Regions from separate parts of the Homo sapiens genome. Here all the other regions are linked to region 5. The links are contacts of gene promoters, found by promoter capture Hi-C in blood cells and fetal thymus (Javierre and others, 2016). All regions are on one chromosome and are shown on one strand. The core of a region is centred on a gene start or on the middle of the fragment in contact, and the rest is flanking DNA. Distances in the headings are between cores, read along the strand shown. Region 1 overlaps SLC25A46 (solute carrier family 25 member 46). Region 2 overlaps DMXL1-DT (DMXL1 divergent transcript). Region 3 overlaps EPB41L4A (erythrocyte membrane protein band 4.1 like 4A). Region 4 has its middle 2.1 kb from the start of DTWD2. Region 5 holds the start of FEM1C (fem-1 homolog C). Region 6 has its middle 81 kb from the start of TNFAIP8.

The links. The method cuts DNA at HindIII sites, captures the fragments that hold promoters and counts their contacts. A CHiCAGO score of 5 or more calls a contact.
Region 1: a contact is called between a fragment that was not itself captured here and the fragment with the promoter of FEM1C in region 5, in 4 of 17 cell types (activated CD4 T cells, total CD4 T cells, fetal thymus and 1 more). The highest score is 9.7, in activated CD4 T cells.
Region 2: a contact is called between a fragment that was not itself captured here and the fragment with the promoter of FEM1C in region 5, in 1 of 17 cell types (M0 macrophages). The highest score is 7.5, in M0 macrophages.
Region 3: a fragment that was not itself captured here is called in contact with the fragment with the promoter of FEM1C in region 5 in 3 of 17 cell types (non-activated CD4 T cells, total CD4 T cells and naive CD4 T cells); the score reaches 7.7 in non-activated CD4 T cells.
Region 4: a contact is called between a fragment that was not itself captured here and the fragment with the promoter of FEM1C in region 5, in 6 of 17 cell types (non-activated CD4 T cells, naive CD4 T cells, fetal thymus and 3 more). The highest score is 9.7, in non-activated CD4 T cells.
Region 6: a contact is called between a fragment that was not itself captured here and the fragment with the promoter of FEM1C in region 5, in 2 of 17 cell types (fetal thymus and monocytes). The highest score is 12.5, in fetal thymus.

Annotation. Positions count from the first base shown.
Region 1 is chr5:110,739,538-110,743,429 of GRCh38, forward strand. It overlaps SLC25A46 (solute carrier family 25 member 46), which reads left to right. Exons shown (of 8, transcript NM_138773.4): 2 at 2,510-2,552. Among named protein-coding and RNA genes, the nearest start is that of SLC25A46, 2.5 kb to the left of the region's middle. RefSeq lists enhancers at 807-1,308, 1,309-1,808. The HindIII fragment of the contact is 709 bases long and covers 1,471-2,179 here.
Region 2 is chr5:119,056,524-119,060,166 of GRCh38, forward strand. All of the region lies in intron 1 of DMXL1-DT (DMXL1 divergent transcript), which reads right to left. Among named protein-coding and RNA genes, the nearest start is that of DMXL1-DT, 13 kb to the right of the region's middle. The HindIII fragment of the contact is 2,432 bases long and covers 1,178-3,609 here.
Region 3 is chr5:112,162,349-112,165,856 of GRCh38, forward strand. EPB41L4A (erythrocyte membrane protein band 4.1 like 4A) reads right to left here. Exons shown (of 23, transcript NM_022140.5): 23 at 271-2,770. The coding sequence ends at 2,642. EPB41L4A-AS1 (EPB41L4A antisense RNA 1) reads left to right here. Exons shown (of 3, transcript NR_015370.2): 3 at 1-153. Among named protein-coding and RNA genes, the nearest start is that of SNORA13, 2.6 kb to the left of the region's middle. RefSeq lists an enhancer at 3,116-3,508. The HindIII fragment of the contact is 836 bases long and covers 1,830-2,665 here.
Region 4 is chr5:118,988,761-118,992,602 of GRCh38, forward strand. No RefSeq gene overlaps it. Among named protein-coding and RNA genes, the nearest start is that of DTWD2, 2.1 kb to the left of the region's middle. The HindIII fragment of the contact is 1,187 bases long and covers 658-1,844 here.
Region 5 is chr5:115,543,475-115,547,051 of GRCh38, forward strand. It overlaps FEM1C (fem-1 homolog C), which reads right to left and starts at 1,301. Exons shown (of 3, transcript NM_020177.3): 1 at 1,049-1,301; 2 at 1-209. The coding sequence starts at 19. RefSeq lists enhancers at 850-1,616, 1,158-1,452 and silencers at 882-1,051, 1,102-1,151, 1,252-1,591. The HindIII fragment of the contact is 1,787 bases long and covers 489-2,275 here.
Region 6 is chr5:119,273,000-119,276,718 of GRCh38, forward strand. It overlaps a transcript of TNFAIP8 not described here. Among named protein-coding and RNA genes, the nearest start is that of TNFAIP8, 81 kb to the right of the region's middle. RefSeq lists enhancers at 527-616, 737-786, 861-1,360, 1,783-1,832. The HindIII fragment of the contact is 1,298 bases long and covers 602-1,899 here.

The DNA.
Region 1 (3,892 bases), core at 575-3,074, 4.8 Mb before region 5:
TCCTTTGGTCCTCTGCCCCTGAGGCTGGCCTCCTCTTCCTCACAAACGAATTCTCCTGGATCAACTCCAAAAAAGACATCTGCCTTAGCTATGGGGTGCATAGCAGGAATTTTTAGAGGTTTTGGTGTCTCAACTGATGGTCTGAGTTAAAAAGGAGATTGGATTATTAACTGTTCCCTGATTCACTTTGGCAGCTCTATTTTCTTGATTTAATTAATTAATTAATGTGTTTACTTGTAGTTTTGTGTTCTGAAAAGAGAAGCCTTTCAGCATAAGCATACTTGGGTTCAAACTTGGTTGTGCCACTCGTAATCTGAACAACTTAACCTCTGTGAGCCCTCAGTTTTCTCATCTTTAAGATGTGTAGAAGAATCCTGTATGGGACACATAGGCTAAAAAAAAAAAGTTTCCTTCCTTTTCCTTTTTGAACACAGGAGTTTTGTCTGCTTTTCAGATCCCCAGTCTAGAAAGTTTCCTTCCTATAATTTTCCTTTCTGCTTTCCTTCTGCTGACCTAAAAACTACATATAAAAGTTAGAAACACTGATACAATTTCAAGATAGGACTTCGGAATCATGACATAATTATTCTCCATGGGATGTCAGAAAAGCTGCAACACTGCATGATGTAGATATTTTCAACATCCTTTTTTATTCATAAAATGTGAATAATGGCTACCTCTTTCTATTCTTCTGGAATTGTTAGAATAATAGATTAATGGTATTAATATTAAATTTATTGTAGAAATCAGCTTTATTCTTATTTCCTCGACTTTGACTTGGAAGTACAATAATATTTAACTAAGAAGAACAGACTAACGAATGTCTAGTGAGTAAATGAGGATGTGAAGAAAGATAGATGACTTACCTAGCTAATTGTCATACAATTAGCTTTTTGACTCTTCCCGGTTTAAAGTTATGCTTTGGTGGTTACAATGAGGAGGAGTTCCTTGACACAAGCAGGGGTTTATTTTGCAGCCTTAACAGGTGGGTGAATGTTAATTTTGCAACAAAGATAGACACCTAAGAGACTTACACAGTAAACAAGATTAAACCTTCCTAACACCTTCCAGAAAATGCTAGTAGCATTTTCTGTTGCTATTTGGGGATGATCTATACATACAAAATGGGTAAGGCCGGGCGTGGTGGCTCACGCCTGTAATCCTAGCACTTTGGGAGGCCAAGGCGGGCGGATCACGAGGTCAGGAGATCGAGACCATCCTGGCTAACACGATGAAACCCCGTCTCCACTAAAAAATAGAAAAAATTAGCCGGGCGTGGTGGCGGATGCCTGTAGTCCCAGCTACTCGGGAGGCTGAGGCAGGAGAATGGCGTGAACCCGGGAGGCGGAGCTTGCAGTGAGCCGAGATCGCGTCACTGCACTCCAGCCTGGGCGACAGAGCGAGACTCCGTCTCAAAACAAACAAAAAAAGGTAAAATCTAAGGTAAAAGTACCGTAGGTGGGTAAAAGAAGCTTTCTATTTAGCTTATACATTTTTCTAGGGTAAACTGCGTAATTTCCCAGGAACATGCTTAGGTGGCCTTGTTCTGATTGAAAGGGAATAGTGAGGGCAGTTGCTTCACTTGAAAGAGAAGAGGAGAGAAAGAATTGTAACTTGTGAATATTGTATTATAGTTAGAATTTGATGTCTGGTCCCCTGGGGTTGTAATAGTTCACCACTATGACTTTGAGTTTAGTCAAGAAGAAAGGCTTTTCTCTTTTGACATATGCATAGGAATGTTCCCAGCTGTGAACTTTTCCAGTAACATAACAGACATACCATCTGTAGTAGCATTTAGGTATCCAGTAACCTACTCCAATTAATTAAACAGCTAGCCTCAAACTATTTAAAACTTGAAGAGATGGGGGAGAGCTGTATTTACCCATTTTGGTTATCCCTAAGTACCCTTTCAAGTTAATAATTTAGAGGTGCTTTACTTGTAGTTATTGGTTTAATAAAGTGCTCTCCGTCAGTAACAGTGAATAACTAGTTTTACAGCATAAGAGGTAAAGTCGCAGGTGGAATATCAGCTGCGGCCAACCATGGAAAATTTTTTATTTGATTGGAATCAGAAGCTGAAAACTGGTAGCCCTTAGGTTCTGTCCGGATATTTGTTTCATTAGGCCAAGACAATGTGTTAACAGTTTTTGAAATAGTTGTCCAGGACTTTAAAATTGGAAGCTTTTATATAAAATGAGAATATCTTTTTTTGAAAAAATTACAACTTCAAAACCCTGGGCCCACACTCTAATGTGGCAACAATGAATTGGAGTGAAAGCGTAATTGTGCTTTAAACACTCTACACCTTGCAATTTGCCACAGACCCCAGCAGAGTCCTTCATTCATTTAAATTATTTACCTGGCCCCTATCAGAATTTGACTTTGAGGTTTAAATGAACAGCAGGTTAATAAAATAAATTTTTTAAAATTGTTTTGAGACTAAACCTAAATTGTCAGTAATTGGTTATCAGTAATCTTATTTTTTTATTTCTATTTTTTTTTACTTTAGAACAGCTGAATAGATTTGCTGGATTTGGTATTGGACTTGCAAGGTAATGTTTTATCTAAAGACGTTTACAGCTTTTATTTATTGAATTTAGAGTTTTTCTTTAATTTACAATATTAAATGATTATTATTGCTTCCTTTAGGTTGTTTCTTTGAAGCAGCAGCTTAAATTTTGAATAATATTTTGCAGAAAAAAAATGACCATTATTTAAAATATATAATTTGATAGTTTTTCCAGTAAGGATAGACTAGTCATCCAATTTTATAAACACAAAGTAATTTTGTAATGAGTATTGTAACTGTTTTCATGGGTCTATCCAAAAAATAAAATGAAGTGTAATCTTATCTCTCTCCCATCAAAATAATAATTTAGAATGGGGTTCATGAAGATCAAATGGCTCTGCTGATAAGAACTTTTTTCATAGGACATTTTCTGAAAGAAAAATTACATGGCATTTAATGATGCCATGTAACTGACGTGTCATTTCCCACATCAAACATACAGTGATCTAGTTTCATTTTATACCGTAGATATTAATATTGTGTATTATATATTGTTTCCCTTACTTACCTGTTTGCAGATCTGGTTTTCATTCTTTTCATGGGTCTATCCAAAGAATAAAATGAAATGTAATCTGTCTGTCTCCCATCAAAAAAGTAATTGTGCATGGAGGCTTCTTTCTAAACACTCTAATGCTTACAAGATATTTAGCAACATAGCATCTAGATTTTGTTCATAATCAGCGTTTGGTGATAGCATTACTTTTTTTTATATCTAACGATCATTTTAAGAAAATCCTTTAGTCTTGATTATTGTGATCCTTAGTGAATACCATTTTCAAAAATATTGGAATTGCACAAAGCTTACATTTCATGCCATAATGATCATTATTTTAAACATTTTAACGAAGAAAAACACCTTATTTGCATAATTAAACCCGAGGGTGTTAATGTCAATATAAATAAAATCTGTGTTTTCCATTCTGCTGGAGTTGTTTTTTGCTTCAATATTTATACTTAAAGCTTTGATTCATTTGATAGACTATTATTACATATAAATATGTGTGCACATGTATGTATATGTCACTCTGAGACCTGAAACCCACAGCTGTAATTGTTTTGTGGGGCACATTCTCAAAATAAATATTTGATACATAAATATTAGTCAATTAACATGGTCATTAAGAATCTTATAATTTAAGATTTATACTTAAATTTATACTTAAACCTTATAATTTAAGTGCACCAAAACCAAACATTTTTAGAATGGGGTTCATGAAGATCAAATGACTCTGCTGATAGGAATTCTGTTATTAGGACATTTTCTGAAAGAAATAATTTGCAGCATTAAATGCCATTTAATTGATGTGCCATTTCCCACATTAA
Region 2 (3,643 bases), core at 1,144-3,643, 3.5 Mb after region 5:
TAAACTATGGTCTCCTGGTGATAATGATGAATCCAAGAGCATCAGTTGTAATAAATGCACCACTCTGGTTGGGGATATTGATACTTGGGGAGGCTGTGCTTGTGTGGGAGAAGGAAATTTACAGCAAATCTCTGTACTTTACCTTTCAATTTTGCTGTACACCTAAAACTGCTCTAAAAAATAAAATACATTTTAAAAATACAGGAGGCCCAGTTAAATCCGAATTTCAGAGGCCAGGCATGGTGACTCACACTTATAATCCCAGCACTTTGGGAGGCCAACATGGTGAAACCCTGTCTCTACTAAAAATACAAAAATTAGCCACTGTGGTGGCGCACACCTGGAGTCCCAGCTACTCGGGAGGCTGAGGCAGGAGAATTGCTTGAACTTGGGAGGCAGAGGTTGCAGTGAGCGGTGATCGCTCCAGTGCCCTCCAGCCTGGGTGACAGAGGGAGACTCTGTCTCAAAAAAAAAAAAATTTGAATTTCAGACAAACAACAAATAATTTTTAGTAAGAAGTATATCCCATGCAATATTTAAAACTTATTAAAAAAATTATTCTGGGCGGGGCATGGTGGCTCATGTCTTGTAATCCCAGCACTTTGGAAGCCAAGGTGGGCCGATCACCTAAGATCAGGAGTTTCGAGACTGGCCTGGCCAACATGGCAAAACCTTGTCTCTACTGAAAATATGAAAATTAGCTTGGTGTGGTGGCATGCACCTCTAGTCCCAGATACTCAGGATGCTAAGGCAGGAGAATTGTTTGAACCTGGGAGGCGGAGGTTGCAGTGAGCTAAGATCTCACCCCTACACTCCATCCTGGGCGATAGAGCAAGACTCTGTCTCAAAAAAAAAATTATTCTGAAATAATCTGAAATTCAAATTTGACTGGGATTCCTGTATTTTATCTGGCAATCTTACTTAGGATATGTGTGGAGCAATTTTGGTGACATATTGTAAGATGGGGGACAGTGGGGAAGTGGAATGTGTGTATACTACTGGTTATGGACTAGTCCCACACAGTGAACTGTCCCACCAAATGCCAATAGTACTACTTGTGAAAAATGACAGGCTTGTTGAGGAGGATAAAAACTTTTCCTCTACCCTCTTAGGTACATCAATGGGGACCTTTCTTTTTTTTGTTTTTGTTTTTACTTTTGCTCCACACATACAGAGAAGCTTCTCTAGTAATGATCTATAGAAATTATCCCTGATAGCATAGCAATGATCTATAGAAATTAGTAATGATCTATAGAAATTATCCCTGATAGCATAGCAATGATCTATAGAAATTAGTAATGATCTATAGAAATTAGTAATCATCTATAGAAATTATCCCTGGTAGCATAGTTTTAGGGCCTTTCAATTAGTAATGATCTATAGTAATGATCTCTAGTAATGACCTATAGAAATGATCATTTCTATATTAATGATTTACAGAAATGATCTATAGAAATTATCCCTGATAGCATATTAATGATCTATATAAATTAGGTAATGATCTATAGAAATTATCCCCGATAGCATAGTTTTAGGGCCTTTCAATTAAACTGACAAAAGGCAGATTAAGACGGGGAATGAGGCTGGCTACGGTGGCTCACGACTGTAATCCCAGCACTTTGGGAGGCCGAGGCGGGCAGATCACCTGAGGTCGGGAGTTCGAGACCAGCCTGACCAACATGGAGAAACCCTGTCTCTACTAAAAATACAAAATTAGCCAGGCCTGGTGGCACATGCCTGTAATCTCAGCTACTCGGGAGGTTGAGGCAGGAGAATTGCTTGAACCAGGGAGGCGGACGTTGCAGCGAGCCGAGATCGCACCACTACACTCCAGCCTGGGTGACAGGGCGAGACTCCGTCTCAAAAAAAAAAAAAAAAAAGAAACATCCCAGGCTAATTTGTTTCAGATGCAGATACCCAGGCTCTTGGCCTCCTGCGCATCTGGGAGAATTCCAGGAAGAGTTAGCCACTACTACAAAAAATCTGCAGTCCTCCCAAACTCAGTAGAATCTAAAACACAGAGCTACCTTAATCAGATTTATTTTCATAACCAGGTTCATGTTTTGGTTTTTGAAGTTTTGCTTGCTATTCAAGTGTGCTACTCACATCTCAAATCTTTGTTCTCAGCTTCTCAGCTTTGTGAGTTTAAATGAAATCTGTTCATATCTGACGTTCCTCAAGCAAATATTTCTTGGTTTTATTATCCTTTTTCCCAATGAATAATACAGCAGACAGTTTGGTTGCCTATCCAACAGCCATTTCCAGCCCCTCCTTTCATGCACTTCTTTTTCTAAGGCTAAAAAACCTAATTTTTCACTTCGCCATCCACCCTTGAAACTAGGGGTTTGCAATGTGGCCCACTTCTGGCCATTGATGTATAATAGGAAGTTTGCTTGGTAACTTCCTAGAAAGATTTTTCTTCCTGATAAAAGAAAAGTAGAAAGTGAGAAGCATGCCTTTTTCCTTCCCCACCTTCCTGCTTTTCTGTATGTTGTGTGGTGAGAACAAAACATTTGGTGCTTCTATAGCCAATGTGTGCCCATCAGGGGTAAGCCTACACTTTGCTGCTGAACAATTCTGGAACTATCTTTATTGTATGACTCAATTGTATGTCTTTATTTTTATTTTTATTTTTCAGAGATGGGGTCTTGCTATGTTGCCCAGGCTGGTCACAAACTCCTGTCCTGGGCTCAAGGGATCCTCCTGCCTCAGCCTCCTCTGGCATACATAGCTGGGAATATAGGCACATGCTACAACCTAATAATAAATATTTATAAAATATATATTTAATAATAACATATTATAATAATATATATTTAATAATAAATATTTTTTATTTAAGCCACTGCTAGTTGCCTAGTCTGTTATGTACAGCCTAACACATATAATATAAATATTATTTATGCATTTGAATATTTAATATAGCCATCATGTTTGCATTTGTTGATTAGTAAATATATGGTTACACTTCATTTGTTCCCTTTCTGGAATGACTGCTAGAAAGTTGAACAGGTTGTATGGAAACCTTTGGAGCAATCTAATATTTCAATTAAAAAGGAAGAGAGAAACATACAGACTACTACATTCACTCTGTATAGAAACATCATTAAAGAGATCCATAACCAGGAATTGCCATCGTAATATGAATGTGACTTTTAAACCCAATACTTTCCTAATTCTAGTCCATCTCTTACATTCTCTGCTGTTTAAAAATAGCTTTATTGAAAGATAATTCACATACTATACAATTCACAGTTCCTCTTTGAAAAGAATTTGCATCCTACTTTGTAGAATGAAGACTATCAAGTTTAACCTTTCTGACTAGATAGTCTCTATCTCTACATTTACCATGTCCAAGACCAATCCCTCCACCCTTGATTCCTTATCTCCTCTGTGTTTACTCCATCAGGAGTCTTTAGTGTCCTTCCATTTATATAAGGAGCTACTTCTTAGATAGGCCTTTCCAAAGGAGGCATAGCAGTGGGGTGTGACACAAATGGGGTTAGCTAAGGCCTGTGGTCAGACAGTAAGAGGTCTGTGCAGGGCAAGATTACTGACTAGACCCAGGCAGCAGGGCTTGGCAAGTTTAGGAGACCAAACAGGCTTTAAAGCTTCTTTTAAAGGTAGCAATCAAGGTCAGAGA
Region 3 (3,508 bases), core at 998-3,497, 3.4 Mb before region 5:
CTATTTCTAAAAAGTTATAAGGGAGGAGGGGTTCTTTTTTGATCAGTATTCACTGCTGTCACCATAATTAATAGCCTTAAAATAGCTTGTGTTTGGCCCAAAGAGAAATGTACTTTCTTCCAGTGACTCAAAAATCGTGGCTAGAACTAGACTGATTTCTAGTGACAGGTGTGCTTTACTGCACTCAATGCGTATTTTTCCTCCAACTAAATTGTACATTTAATGTTGCCATATCTTCTGCCTTTGCTTTGCAGGAAACGACAAATAATGTATAGAGGTATTCAAAAAATTTATTGAAAGCACTGTACTAGGAGCTGAGAACACGATGATGAGCACAACACAGTTCTTCCCTTTGGAAACATAGATAAGTGGAGGGAATGTCATCACAAATGTAAAACTTCACTATGAGATGAGTTCCGTGATAGGATTTTCTTAGGGAAACCTGAGAAAGAGTTGAGACTAAAGGTATGTGTCATATTTTTCACAAGGCAAAACTGGGGGAATGACATATACAGAGGCTTGGGCTAGAAAAAAGATACCGTTAGTCCACTTACTTTTGAGACAGTTTTGGCTGCTTTCCCTCTTCAGTGCCCTGTTTTAGAACTGAGTCCTTACTGAGGCTTGTAAGATGGCTATTATGGGAGGTGAGAGTGTTACAAAATGAGGCTGAAGAGGTAGGTAAAGAAGCCAGACCACTTCAGGCTCCCTCTGGCTTTATTAAAGCAAGATAAATCCATGGTGGAAAATCAGATTTGCAAGAAAAGGTAGTTGAACTAGGTTGCTTATTGTTGTCTAGACAAGAGACCAGCTTGGACTAGTAAAATTAGTGAAATAAGATCGTTTATAGTTGGATGACAGAGCCAACTAGACGTGGTAATAGTGGAGGTGTCCATAACTGCTAGGTGTCCAGCTTGCACACTGATGAGCATAATGACCCTAGATTCAGCTGGGGAGCAGCATTTAAACAGCTGAATTTTTAAATTACCTTTGAGAAACCCAAATGGTCTTTTTGCAGTAGCACATTACTCAGTAGTCTAAACTACAGAAATAAACCTTAAGGCCATGGGTATAAATGAGATCTGCTGGTGGTAGAGGAAGAGGGCCTAGGGTCTGAAGTTTGAGAAACTCCACTAATTAATGGCAAGGTAAAGCATGATAAGCCAGAAAGGATGGTCAGTGGTAGGAGCAAAATAGGATTATATTAAAGAAGCAAAAGAATGTCCTAAAAATTCTCCCTGGGATTAAGTAACACAGTGATTGATATTAGTGGAGTAGAGGGAAAGATCCATGTTAGAGATAGCTTAAGATAGGGATTAGATGAATTGAGGGCAATGACTAAAGATACTGCTTGCAAGAAAACTGGCTGAGAATGAGAGGAAAATCTTAGTTGCTTGGCGGGAGGGGGTTTGTGGTTGTGAAAGATAGTTTTGTTTAATCTTAGTCTTAAATTTAAAACCAAGTAGCAAGGATCTAGCTGAGAGAATAATTGAATACATTAATATAGGAGGACAGACAAAGATCCTGAAAAGGCTGGGAGAAGAGCATCCAAAGCACAGGTGGAGAGACAAAAAGGTTAGGGCTGCTGGCAGCTGTGGAGAGAACTGTACGTGGTAAGGGGGAGATATAAGATGTCCTGCATAAGTATTTTCCCTGTAGATTGCAAAGTCATCTATGGAGAGGAAAGGTACAAAATAGTCACTGGGGAGAGCAGGTGAATTAGATGGCCAAGCAGGGTGGATGGATCATTTGAGGTTTGGGGTGACAGATCAACTGAGATCCACTTACACTTCTGAAAACGCAAGAACACTTTAGAAATTAACAACACTTAAAGCTTTTTACATCATTTGTAAATAACTGGTGGAACTTAACACCACAAAATAAAGTATTATAAAGAACTTTATATGAATAAAAATATATGCAGTCTGAAAGTGATGCCTCAGTCCTTTTGCATCTGGGCACTAGTTGAGAACCAGCCCAGCCCTGGGAAGACGTCCTCCCACTTGTACTATTGCACAGCAGGCTAGCTGCAGTTCAGAATTCCAGAATGTTCATCAGATGCATCTGGTCTTGGTTGTGGTGGACACAGACACAAGATAGAAATGAATGATTGCTATCCTGTTCCAGAAATGAAAATGTGGTATCAAGTGAATTTTTACAAAATACTTATTCTTCCAGTTAAAACAAAAAGGTCCTTCAGCACAACTGTGCTGTAGTTAAACCATGGCCTATAATCCCAGCACTTTGGGAGGCTGAGGCAGGCGGATCACTTGAGGTCAGGAGTTCGAGACCAGCCTCCAACATGGCAAAGCCCTGTCTCTACTAAAAATACAAAAAGAATTAGCCGGGTGTTGTGGTGCACGCCTGTAATCCCAGCTGCTCGGGAGCCTGAGACAGGAGAATCGCTTAACCCAGTAAGTGGAGGCTGCGGTGAGCTGACACGGTGCCGCTGCACTCCAGCCTGGGCGACAGAGTGATAACATCTCAAAAAAAAAAAAAAAAAGAAGCAAAAGATAATGTATTTTCTCATGCTGAAGAAATACTTGCAGGTCTGAGATTTGAATTAAGATACCTATTTCACAGTTTCAAAAGTACCAGTGGCGCACACAACCTTCCCACCCCTACCCTTGACCCTTCATCAGGATCAAGTCTCTGTCTTGAGGCGGGAAGCTTGTATAGTTTTTATTGTTTTTGCTGTGTGTTTTCCAGCCAGGTTGTTTGTAGATGTCTGAGGTTTTTCTTCCATCAGGCTATCTTTAGACCCATTTCTTCTCTAAAATATATTTGAAAAATGTAGAAAGATTCAGAAGAAAACAGCCAAATGAAGTATTTTAATTACATCAGAAACCAAGCTGCTCTTAAATTTAAGATACTGAGTTAATTCAAAAGTTTCATAATACCAAAAGCTATTCAATAAATGTTCCCTCTAAATAGCTGTGCAAAATAAAGTTTGTATTTAAACTTTAATATACAAAGTTAGTCTGACATTTACATGCATAACGATTTTATTCATGAATATTAGGCATAATTCACCCAAATCAGTGTCATTACTTTTGTTAACAATTCCCAAACCAGGCTCTCAACCTCACTCTTCCAAACAGGATAGTGATGGAGACTTGGAGGCAATTTATAATCCCCTGATTATATTTTCAGTAGTCAATGAATGGAACAATGTCTTGTGAGCCCCTATCACTTGTCTCATACGGAGAAACAGGGCAGCTCATTACCAGAGCCTGGGCACCACATCCACTAGTTTGTAAAACTTAGGTTTTACACATCTCCCATCATCACTGGTGGAGGCTCTGAGAATGACACTAACTCACAACTACTACTTCTTATGCGAACCCCTCCTCCTCTTACTTCCAAGGATGGTCTAACATTGTCAGTGTATCAGGCTGGCAAGCATATTTCCTTCCCCAAATGTATATTCCCATAAATAATGGGCTATACCGTCCCAATCTATTTTGAGATTTGTTTGAGCTAAAAATAAATAAATCCCTCTTAAAATGCA
Region 4 (3,842 bases), core at 1-2,500, 3.4 Mb after region 5:
GTTAAGTAGCGTCATTGGGAGAGGTAAGGGAAACCTCCCCGAGAGGACCCCAGTACCAAGCCCGAATTTAACTCCTTTAAAAGTTAAAATAAAATGGAATTCTGCATTTTCCGCCTTGGGATGGCAGTTTAAGAATTTGCAGGATTTCCACGCGTGCATGCATCGCAGGTGCGGCAGCTGATGCACTTATTATTTAAAGGCCAACAAAGGAGAGGTTATATCCACTGGGAACTACTCACAGCTGGTCCGTTTCCTTATGTGAATTTCCTGCTCTTCTATGTCTTGTGCTAATAAGACATCAAGCATGCTATTTTACACTGGACACCAGATATTTGTTAAATTAGATTTTTAGATCGTCCCCGATCAGGAAGCAATAGGAGAGCTGGCCCGGGGTACCAATAGGTTTTATGTATGAGGAAACAAGCCCTAGAAAGGTAACGTTGCCCAGGTATTTAACAACTACTGGATACGGCGGTATATAGCACAGCAGCTGTTTTTTAAAAGCCAAAATGAAATCTATGTTAGAATGAAGGCAGAAATACTATTTACCCAAAATGGGTATCGAATTCCTTTTGTTTATTAATGCTTTGTGTTACTTCCAGCAATACACAACATTAAAACAGAATTAAGCTTGGTTTTGATCAATCATGTGAATTAAGCTTAGGAATCACAGTTGTCTTAACTCTATAGTTGTAATAGATTAAATGTGAGGCAAAGTAGACAACACAGTAATAGAGCAAATACTGTATTTCTTAAAATGTTTATTTCACATTAGATTTTTCAGTCATCTTAAAATCAAGTTTGTGAATAAAATACCGTGCTGTTTTCAACTATCCTACGTTCTTTCCCCCCGGAAACAGCACCTCTCTTTTCCTTTGGAGCGTCCTATGTGAGGGATAGAAAAAGGCTGAAACACCCACCTGGTGATGGACGTAGAGTGGGAGAAAGAACTAGCAATTATGCCATTTGGAATCGGAGGATAAACAAAATCCAGAAACTGTAGGAAAGGAGATGAATCAGAAAATTCATCTTGTCTGTAGATTTAGGTTGGGGAACCAATTCTTTAACTGCCAAAATTAAATTCTCATGTGACTTATCTTTAAACGAAAGGAAGCTGCTCATCTTTAATTTCAAGAGGTGAAATGTGCTCAAGTCCTCTAAGGTCCCTTGAGACTCCCAATTGTGTGGTGTGAGAAGACAGATGATAAGGAAAAAAAAAAAAACTTTTTATCTAAGGAATGCGAGCAGTCATGTCTCACTCTCCCTTGAGCTAAATAATTACCTCTTGAAGGCACTTGCTATGCAGGCCCTAGACTGACACCGAGTAGCCATAAAACGCCGTATACCCTATAGTTCAACAATATGTATAGCCAATCACTAACCAATGTTATTTCTGTAAATAAATGACACTTCCTGAGACATAGCTTTTGTAATGCCCCCCTCTGCTGATTCGTTCTCTTTTCTTTAAAAACTCCAGCCCATTTTGTTCTCCAGAGCACTCTCCACAGCAACCTGGAAGTACGACCTAGGCTACAGTCCTCAACGTTGGCCCAAATAAACTCTCTATATTAATTTTGCCTCTGCTCCTTCCTTTTAGGTTGATGTGAGCCTACTTACTTGGGGCTTCCTTTTAACACCCCATATCAGATTATTGGCTTTACCCTTCAAAGTATTCAAAATCCAAACATTTATCTCACCTACTACTTCTGCCCTGGTTCAAGCCCCCGTCATCTCTTGCATAGAATATTGCCAAAGACCTAAGTGGTCTCCTGCTCCATCTCCGCTCCTTATGAAGAAAATCCCCTACAAGTCCATTGTCTCAGAGGCTGACCAAAATCAAAGAAAGCTTCCATCCAGGCAAGACACAGAGTTGAGAAAGGAGAGCCATTTTCCTCTATAGGAAGCAAGAAATTCACCCAATATCCAGGTTTGTGAACAATGACCTTCAGACGCCTGAGGAAACATGCAGGTGAGGTTACCACCTTGGGGCAGACCCAGGTATCAGACCATCAGTGACTCAGCTTCTGGGAAGTGCCAAGACACCAGAAAGGGAAGTAAAATATCCTTTATGGGATACAGACAACTTACTAGTGTCAAGATAATGTATTGAGGTGTTAATGTATGTTTTGTTTATCTCCCAACTTCAGGTAGAAAACCAGACTTTTATGCTCCTTTGCCTCAGAGGAGTTTGGGTAGTAAAGACTGAGGACAATCTTAGGTCCACGCCTGGTGTTGTGGGAAAAGGAGATCCTGTTACTGGTAGAGGAAAGGGCCTCAGTAATGTAAGGGATTGAATATCCTGCCAGGCCTGCAGTATGAGGATTCAGCATTGTATAAGATTTGATTTAAATGAAATAAAAACATGGTATTTTTTGCTATATTCATTTTCTATCACTGTGGAACTAATAACCACAAATTTAGTGGCTTTTTCCTTTGTTTTTTTTTTTTTTTTTGAGATGGAGTCTCGCTCTGCCGCCCAGGCTGGAGAGTAGTGGCGTGATCTGGGCTCACTGCGACCTCCGCCTCCCGGGTTCAAGCAATTCTGCCTCAGCCTCCCGAGTAGCTGGGACTACAGGCTGCGTGCCACCATGTCAGGCCAGTTCTTTTTTTTTTTTTTTTTTTTTTTTTTTTGAGACGGAGTCTCGCTCTGTTGCCCAGGTCGGACTGCGGACTGCAGTGGCGCAATCTCGGCTCACTGCAAGCTCCGCTTCCCGGGTTCACGCCATTCTCCTGCCTCAGCCTCCCGAGTAGCTGGGACTACAGGCGCCCGCCACCGCGCCCGGCTAATTTTTTGTATTTTTAGTAGAGACGGGGTTTCACCTTGTTAGCCAGGATGGTCTCGATCTCCTGACCTCATGATCCACCCGCCTCGGCCTCCCAAAGTGCTGGGATTACAGGCGTGAGCCACCGCGCCCGGCCCAGTTCTGTATTTTTAGTAGAGACAGGGTTTTACTGTGTTGATCAGGCTGGTCTTGAACTCCGGACCTCAGGTGATCCACCCGCCTCGGCCTCCCAAAGTGCTGGGATTACAGGACTGAGCCACCGCGCCTGGCCACTTATTTTTCTTTTAAGTGAAAACCAAGTTTATTAGGCAAGCAAAAGAATAACAAATGGCTACTCCACAGGCAGAGCAGCAGCTTAGGCTACTTCATCAAGGATACTTTTTTTTTTTTTAATTATTATTATACTTTAAGTTCTAGGGTACATGTGCACGACATGCAGGTTTGTTACATATGTATACATGTGCCATGTTGGTGTGCTGCACCCATCAACTCGTCATTTACATTAGGTCTATCTCCTAATGCTATCCCTCCCCGCTCCCCTCACCCCACAACAGGCCCTGGTGTGTGATGTTCCCCTTCCTGTGTCCAAGTGTTCTCATTGTTCAATTCCCACCTGTGAGTGAGAACATGCAGTGTTTGGTTTTCTGTCCTTGCGATAGTTTGTTGAGAATGATGGTTTCCAGCTTCACCCATGTCCCTACAAAGGATATGAACTCATCCTTTTTTATGGCTGCATAGTATTCCATGGTGTATATGTGCCACATTTTCTTAATCCAGTCTATCATTGATGGGCATTTGGGTTGGTTCCAAGTCTTTGCTAATGTGAATAGTGCCGCAATAAACATATGTGTGCATGTGTCTTTATAGCAGCATGATTTATAATCCTCTGGGTATATACCCAGTAATGGGATGGCTGGGTGAAATGGTATTTCTAGTTCTAGATCCTTGAGGAATAGCCACACTGTCTTCCACAGTGGTTGAACTAGTTTACAGTCCCACCAACAGTGTAAAAGTGTTCCTGTTTCTCCACATCCTCTCCAGCACCAGTTGTTTCCTGAC
Region 5 (3,577 bases), core at 51-2,550:
CTGCTGTCTTTAGATCCATTTATGTCCAGTTGAGAGGCTGTGCTTTATTTATCTTTCAAAGCAGAGCTCCAGTTTAACTCTATCGACACAGGCAAGAGTCACAGGAACCAAAGTCCAATGTTAATTGCTGCACCCCAGAACGGATACACAACCACGAAGAGTATGTTCCGTCCTACTGCTTTCCAACATCTGACAACCAGGGCACCAAACTAGAGAAAGAAAAAAAAAGTAGCAGCATTTAATTTTCTATAGAAGAAGGCAAAACACTTCTTAATTTCCACTTCTGTGGGAAGAAAGGAATAAAAGCTATACTTCAGGCACTACTCCATCCCACACACCCCCCCCACCCCCAAAGAAAAGGTGGTAAAGAAAAATACAGAAGGATACACAGAGACCCAAATGTTCTGGTCGCAGGCAGTCTCCTCCATGTGCGGAAAATTTAAACACTACAGGCAGCCCGTTTTCTCGCCTCCAGCTCTAACCAGCCAAGCTTTGTTCTAGTTTTGCTTTGCACACGCCCAGGGAGAGTACAACCGAAAGAGGCAGGAGACTCGGGTTCAGAAATGTTTCTCTTTCTTGCAACTGCAGGAGAGCTGGCCAAGGGCGCCAGGCTGGAAGGCCTGAGGCCGGGTTTCGAGAAAGAACAAAAAGGTCGGACACACCAAACCCCGGCTAAGGCCAAAACTGTGCCCCGAAAGATTCTCTTTCCTTTAAAACTACTCACGGCTCTCAGGAAATCCGCCTGCCTTTTAGTCATTAACTTCGCCCGCCCCATTTCGATCACCCCCCACCCCCCGCCAAGGGATGATCCGCAGGTTCCTCAAACCACAGTCGCCCCAACACAACCTTCCCCTCTCCCTGTTCCAGACAACGGCAGCCCCCTCCCAATCTCCTCCATCGACCACAACCCCCTCCCGATGGGCCAAGCTGTGGCCTCCAGCCCGCTGCCCGCCTTCGGCTCCCCCGGCGCCCTCCTTCCCGCCCAGGCCTTCCGCGGGCACCTCAGGCCCCGGCCCGAGCCCTGGCAGGCCGCTGCCGCCGCCACTACCTGCCCGGGGACTAGTCCTCCCCGCCGCCGCTGGTCACTCGGGCTTTGTCCGTCCCCTTCAAAGGGAAACCGTTGTCCCCACCGCCGCCCGGGCCGCCCTGCTCCGCCTGCGGCCGCACAGCTCCTCCATGCTCCGCGCCCCAAAGGAATGAATCCGGCCGCGCTGTTCGCCACGCCCCGCCACCCGAGCTGCCTCCCGCCCTTAGTCGGCTCGGACTGCAGCGGCTGCAGCGACTGCTGCGACGGATGGTGTAATGGGCTGCGAGCCGGGGGCCGGACAAGCCTGAGCGTCACATCACTGACTGTGCCGCCACGCCATTGGGCCGGGGGAGGGCGGCGGCCGCGGCCAGCAACAGCCTAGGCGCGGGGCGGGGCGTCGCGGCCGGGGTGGGGCGACGGGGAGGGGGCGGGGCCTGAACTACTGGGAGGACGTGCCTGCGTGCAACGCGCTGGGGGGCGGGGCGCTGCGAGGGGGCGGATCTGTGCCCATCGAAGCGGCCCGAGGCAGCTCGAGTTCTGAGATCTCGCTGGCTCTTCTCCTCTCGGATTTTCGGGGTGCTCCCTTAGGGAATCTTTCGGTCCCATCTCAGAGACCCCAGAAGGGAAGTGTATTAGTGCGTTTTCACGCTGCTGATAAAGACATACCCGAGATTGGGTAATTTATAAAGATAAAAAGATTTAATGCACTCAGAGTTCCACGTGGCTGGGGAGGCCTCACAATCAAGCCAGAAGGGGAAAGGCACGTCTTACATGGCAGCAGGCAAGAGAGGAAAATCAGAGCCAAGGAAAAAGGGAAACCCCATATAAAACAATCAGCTCTCCTGAGACGTACTCACTACCACCAGAGCAGCATGGGGGAAACAGCCTTCTTGATTCAATTATCTCCCACTAGGTCCCTCCCACAATATGTGGGAATCATGGGAGCTAAAATTCAAATTTGGGTGCGGACCAGTATTACCCTCACACACGTGAAGTCTCTCGGACTAGTCTTCCGTCCTTACTTTGGTGGGCCCTGGAAATTACCAAGCTCGTAATTACACCTCAGAACACACACGGAGGAAACTGAAATTTCAGAAAATGTGATTAGTTTTGGAGGCTGTCAAACTGACTCTCTTTCTAAAGTAGCCTCTAAAAAGCATAAAGGCTACGAGGAATGGTAAACCCTAAGAGCAATGTAAAGTCAATGAGGTCAGGTTCTTGAGCTCTGAGTAATAAATCGGGAACTAAAGCTTAAAAGGTTATATATATGAATGAAAAGAATTACTTCTTCATATAGTAGTTGATAAACCTCTGGAATTTGATGCTAAAACCTACGTTGCATTAAACTAGGATGAAAAAGTTTAAATGTGTTTGGGAAATAACGCCCATAATGAATCCTGATGAGAAAACAGAATTTTTGAAAATGGACCTTCAATCACTTTGTTTGAGGGAACTTAAGCTCACATAATTCCTTAGTACCACTAGGAGAAATAGAATATTACAGTAGGCAGTCTGACCCTCAGCATATGTAATCCATAACGTTATGTTAGAAGTCATGCAGCACTAAAAACATTTATAAAAAATCACAACTTCATTTTTGTATATTGTAGTGTTGTTCAGAAGTTTATGTAGTTTTGCATAATTGAAATAATTTTCATACAACTATATATTTTGCTTTTCCTTTCTATACTCTAAACGTTTCTTATGTTTTTACAGTCTTAATAATTTTTAAGTATAGCATAGTATTTCCCTTAGGTAGTCAGTATCAGACTACACTCAACATCAGATTCCCAAAACTGAAGTTAAGGTAATTGCCACTGAGAAGAAAATATAAAAGAATAGAGTATAAAGGATAAGATTGACCATCCATAAAAATTAACCAGCCAAGAGGACTGGCTGTTTTATCCCCAGCATATGTCACAGTTCTATACTCTCCCAGGGTACAGATAACAGTGTACAGTGTCCCAACCAAGGCCTAACCTGAGCTGACCTGTCTCTCTCACCTAATTCAATAAGATGTAAACATTCACATCAGCCATCTTCAAACTGAGCTCTGTATCCCTCATGGGATTGTTAAGGGATAGACGGACACTTAGTTTAAAGGCTACCAATTTCTGCTGTGGCTCACACCTGTAATCCCAGAACTTTCGGAGGCTGAGACAGGCAGATTGCTTGAACCCAAGAGGTCGAGACCAGCCTGGACAACATGGTGAAATCCCAACTCCACACACACGCACACACACATGCACGCACACGCACACACACACAAAAAATTAGTCAGGCATGGCATGCAGGAGGCTGAGGTGGCAGGATCACCTGAGCTGAGCTGGGGAGATCAAGGCTATAGTGAGCCATGATCACACCACTGTGCTGCAGCCTGGGCCACAGAAGGAAACTCTGTCAAAAAAAAAAAAAAAAAAAGGCTACCAGTTTCTGAATCTTCAATTTACACCTACGTTCTTTCCTAAAATTGATCTGCTGGTAAAGGAATATGGTCAAGGTGTCTCATTTCCCAACTCTTTCACAATAGCTGTATGTTTCCCAATTTGT
Region 6 (3,719 bases), core at 1-2,500, 3.7 Mb after region 5:
ATTAAGTTCAAAATTCCACTTGTAGTTTCCTTAAACATTGGGAATAAAGATGACTTTAGTCAAGAAGTAGTTGGTCCAAATGACTTTGCTGGAATCAGCAGCTCATGTCTCAGCCCCTGCTGGCTGTGTGGCTTTGGACAATCTACTTAGCTCTCTGAGCCTGTTTCTTCACCAGAGTAAAAACTGGGGATAGTATTTATATTATAGGATTGTTGTGCAGATTAAGCCAGATGTTCCTCTCCTGTATCAGTGTGCAGAAGGCACCCATTAAGTGGAGGACTTAGTTAGATTGGCCAAATAGGTCTCATTCCAGTAAGTGTTAGTACTGAGCCACAGTGGAGTAGAGAGGGAAAGTAGTAACTTGTGTCATATGTGATTTTAGCATGAATTCTTTTTTCCTTTAACAATGCCAGAGGAGCCCAGAGAATGGGGTGAATGTAGCACAACTTCAGTGATTGCTAGCTGCAGGGTCACATGATTATATAAGGGAAATGTCACCGCTGCTGCCAAAGATAAGTGAGCCAGAGCAGGGCATTCGAGTTTTATGTGCCTGAGAACGAAGACGAGCCATAGTACCCATTAAGCTTCTCTGCATGAGGGAAGCTTTCAAAAGACCTATTACAGTTAAATTGTGAGCAGTGGGTTGGCCTTTCACAACTCCCATGTTTAAAACAGGTAGTGAATGAAACCAGATTATTTAAGACAGACAGCTGCCCTTGGTGTTGCAAAGGGAATCGGGCTGGCATGTCTTCAGGGGAAGTTGCGTGAGGTCCGGGAGGCCCAGGGCAGGGACCGCATCTGCAGGATTAGGCACCGGGGCAAGGTCTTTTGGGAACACAGTACTCAGCAAGGCACACAGTAGACTCTTGGATATTTTAAAGGAGCCAAAAAGTAAGCAACAGCTCACTCTGTCAATACCCTCTCTAAGCCTGGCTCTTACTCCTTCAACCCAAATTCATTTAGCTCAAGCCTTCCTCATTCCTAACTCTTATTTATTACTCTTATTTATCATTTGTTTAACAAAATGAGGTTTTTTGTTTGTTTGTTTGTTTGGTTTTACAACATGGCTGTCAACAAAAATAGGGGAGACAGAGATTGTGGTGTGTGCTATGTAGACCTAACTACACTCGTCTTTCCTGTCCTGAGCTCTCTTCTGACTGTGTTCAGACCCTCACACACATGCAGACACGAAAAAAAATGCCAGTCTTCTGAGAAAAAAATGCATGGACAGTGTTGGCAACAGTGCAAGTTTCAGAACAAACTTTGGTCACGTAAATCTTTGGGAAGTAAGTCCAGTACCTCATTCCATCATTCTGTGGTCAGGAAACTACTCTTTTATTTTTCCTTCTTCACTCTTTAAAGGGTTGAGATTGTTTTCTGGAAAATGGCAGGTGTTTGGTTAAATACTGTTTTGCTACACTTGAAGGGCAGAGCAGTCCTCACTTAGTGATGGAATTCCTTTTGCCTTGAGGCAGAATTAGGCTGCTAGTGACTCATGAGGTATACCTGGAAGAGGTGAGTGAACTCAGGCCTTCCCAACATCCGGTGATGACCTCTGTTTGCACACACGTAGCCACTTTGCTCCTTTGCTTTTATGACCTGGAATGACTGATAGTGCCTGAAGGAACAGGCTGCTATTACTTTTCAAGGTAAGAGACCCTGTGTAAATAGGGAGCCTCCTGAGGAAGCAAGGATTCCCTGCCCTGTGTACCTGTGGTGCTTATCACCTCCCTGGCAGGGAAGCTCTGCCCAGGTAGGGTAGTTTGAGAACATCATTATCTGGGCAGCTACAAAAGTGATACACCAAATGAAACTTTGAACTTATCCAATGTGCTGTATTTTAGGGCTCATCTGGGACTATTCCTGTGAACCTGACTGTTAAGTCAGAATCACCAGTGAAGCTTGATGCAAATTGAGAACCCCTAGCCTGGGAGACTTATGTGACTCATTTTCCTGTCTTGTTCTAGAAAGAAGCTTATTCAGGCAGCAGCTAGCTGTAGGGATTTTTTTTTAATTTTTTTTTTTTTTTTGGCAGTGGAAAGAGCTCTTGAAAGTACAGAGTGGCTTTAAAGTTTAAAGAAGATTAAAATGAACACAACATATAAAATAAACACAACATATAAAATGAACACCTATGTACCCATCTTAAGAAATAACAAAGTTGTTTTTATAGGTCTTCACTGGGTGGAAAAATATTAACAAGCAACCAGGTCAAGAACAAAAAATAACAACCAAAACAATTAGTGGTGTCCCACAAATAGATCCAGAAATTGAAGGCCATGAAACAGAGACATTGGAGAGTCTGCCCAGTGTTCATTAGTTGAAAATCTAGACTTGAGTCACCAACAATGCTGACATCATAAATCCAGTATGCCAGCTGACTTAAGGATAACTCAGGTGGTTTGTAGATACTGAACTGGGATGGGCATCCTTATTTCAACAGCGGCGCATGTTTGGAAGAGCACGGGCCCAACTCAGGACTCGGAGTTGCCAAGCGGACCGTTTCCCCTAACCCAGGCCTGTTTCCTGTCCTGAGGTCCTGGTACCTCCAGGAATCTATTCTGTTCTCAGAGTGTCCCTCTCATTTTGTAATGGTAGAAAATGAGAAAATGAAAAACAGACCATTTTTTTCTTTGAAGCCATGTTCTGTAACTTCCTCCTGCTTCTTTTGCATTTTGGGTTTTGCCAGTACTTGAGACTTCCCTTTTTCTGAATTTTAGTCAGTTTTTAATTTATCATTCTAATAGGGGCCATGGAAATTAGAATAATAAAGGTTTGCTACTGATCATAACATAGTATTAATTTTAGTAGATTGACAGCTTTTTTTTTCCCCTCTAGATTTAAATATTTGAACAGAGAATAACAGGTTATGAAACTGACTAATTCAGGTCTGGCCTCTGCCTTCCTCTGTAGTCAGCCATCCCCCAGGTTTGCTGCCCTGGAGTTGAGCACACCAGGGCCTTTCAGCCTTACCATTAGGGAAATGAGGCAGATAGAGGAGGTTGGGCAGTGACTTGCGGAGACAGGTGGCAGGGGCAGAGGATTAACCACCCAAGCCCAACAAGCATATCCACACTGAATTTTACGCTTTAATCAGTCTTTCGTTAAGTTCTGTTTTTTTTTTTTTCTTTTTTTTGAGTTGGAGTCTTGCTCTGTCTCCCAGGCTGAAGTGCAGTGGTGCAAACTTGGCTCACTGCAACCTCTAACTCCCGGGTTCAAGCGAAGCTCCTACCTCAGCCTCCCGAGTAGCTGGGATTACAGGCAAACACCACCACATCTGGCTAATTTTTGTATTTTTAGTAGAGACAGGGTTTCACCATGTTGGCCAGGCTGGTCTCGAACTCCTGACCTCAAGTGATCCACCTGCCTTGGCCTCCCAAAGTGTTGGGATTACAGGCTTGAGCCACCGCACCTGGCCTGTAAGTTCTGTTTTTTTTATGGTTGCCTTTAGTGATGATAGTGTTCTATATAAGTGTATTAGTTTTTAAGGGCTGCCATAACAAAATACCACAGACTGGTGGCTTAAACAACAGAAATTTATATTCTCACAGTTCTGGAGACTGGAAGTTCAAGATCAAGACGTCAACAGGTTTGATTTCCCTGAGGCCTCCCTCCTTGCCTTTCAGATGGCCACATTTCTGCTGTATTCTCACAAGAACATTTCTCTGTGCACAACCCTGGTGTCTCTCCCTCTTCATAGAGTGCCAGTCATATTAGAT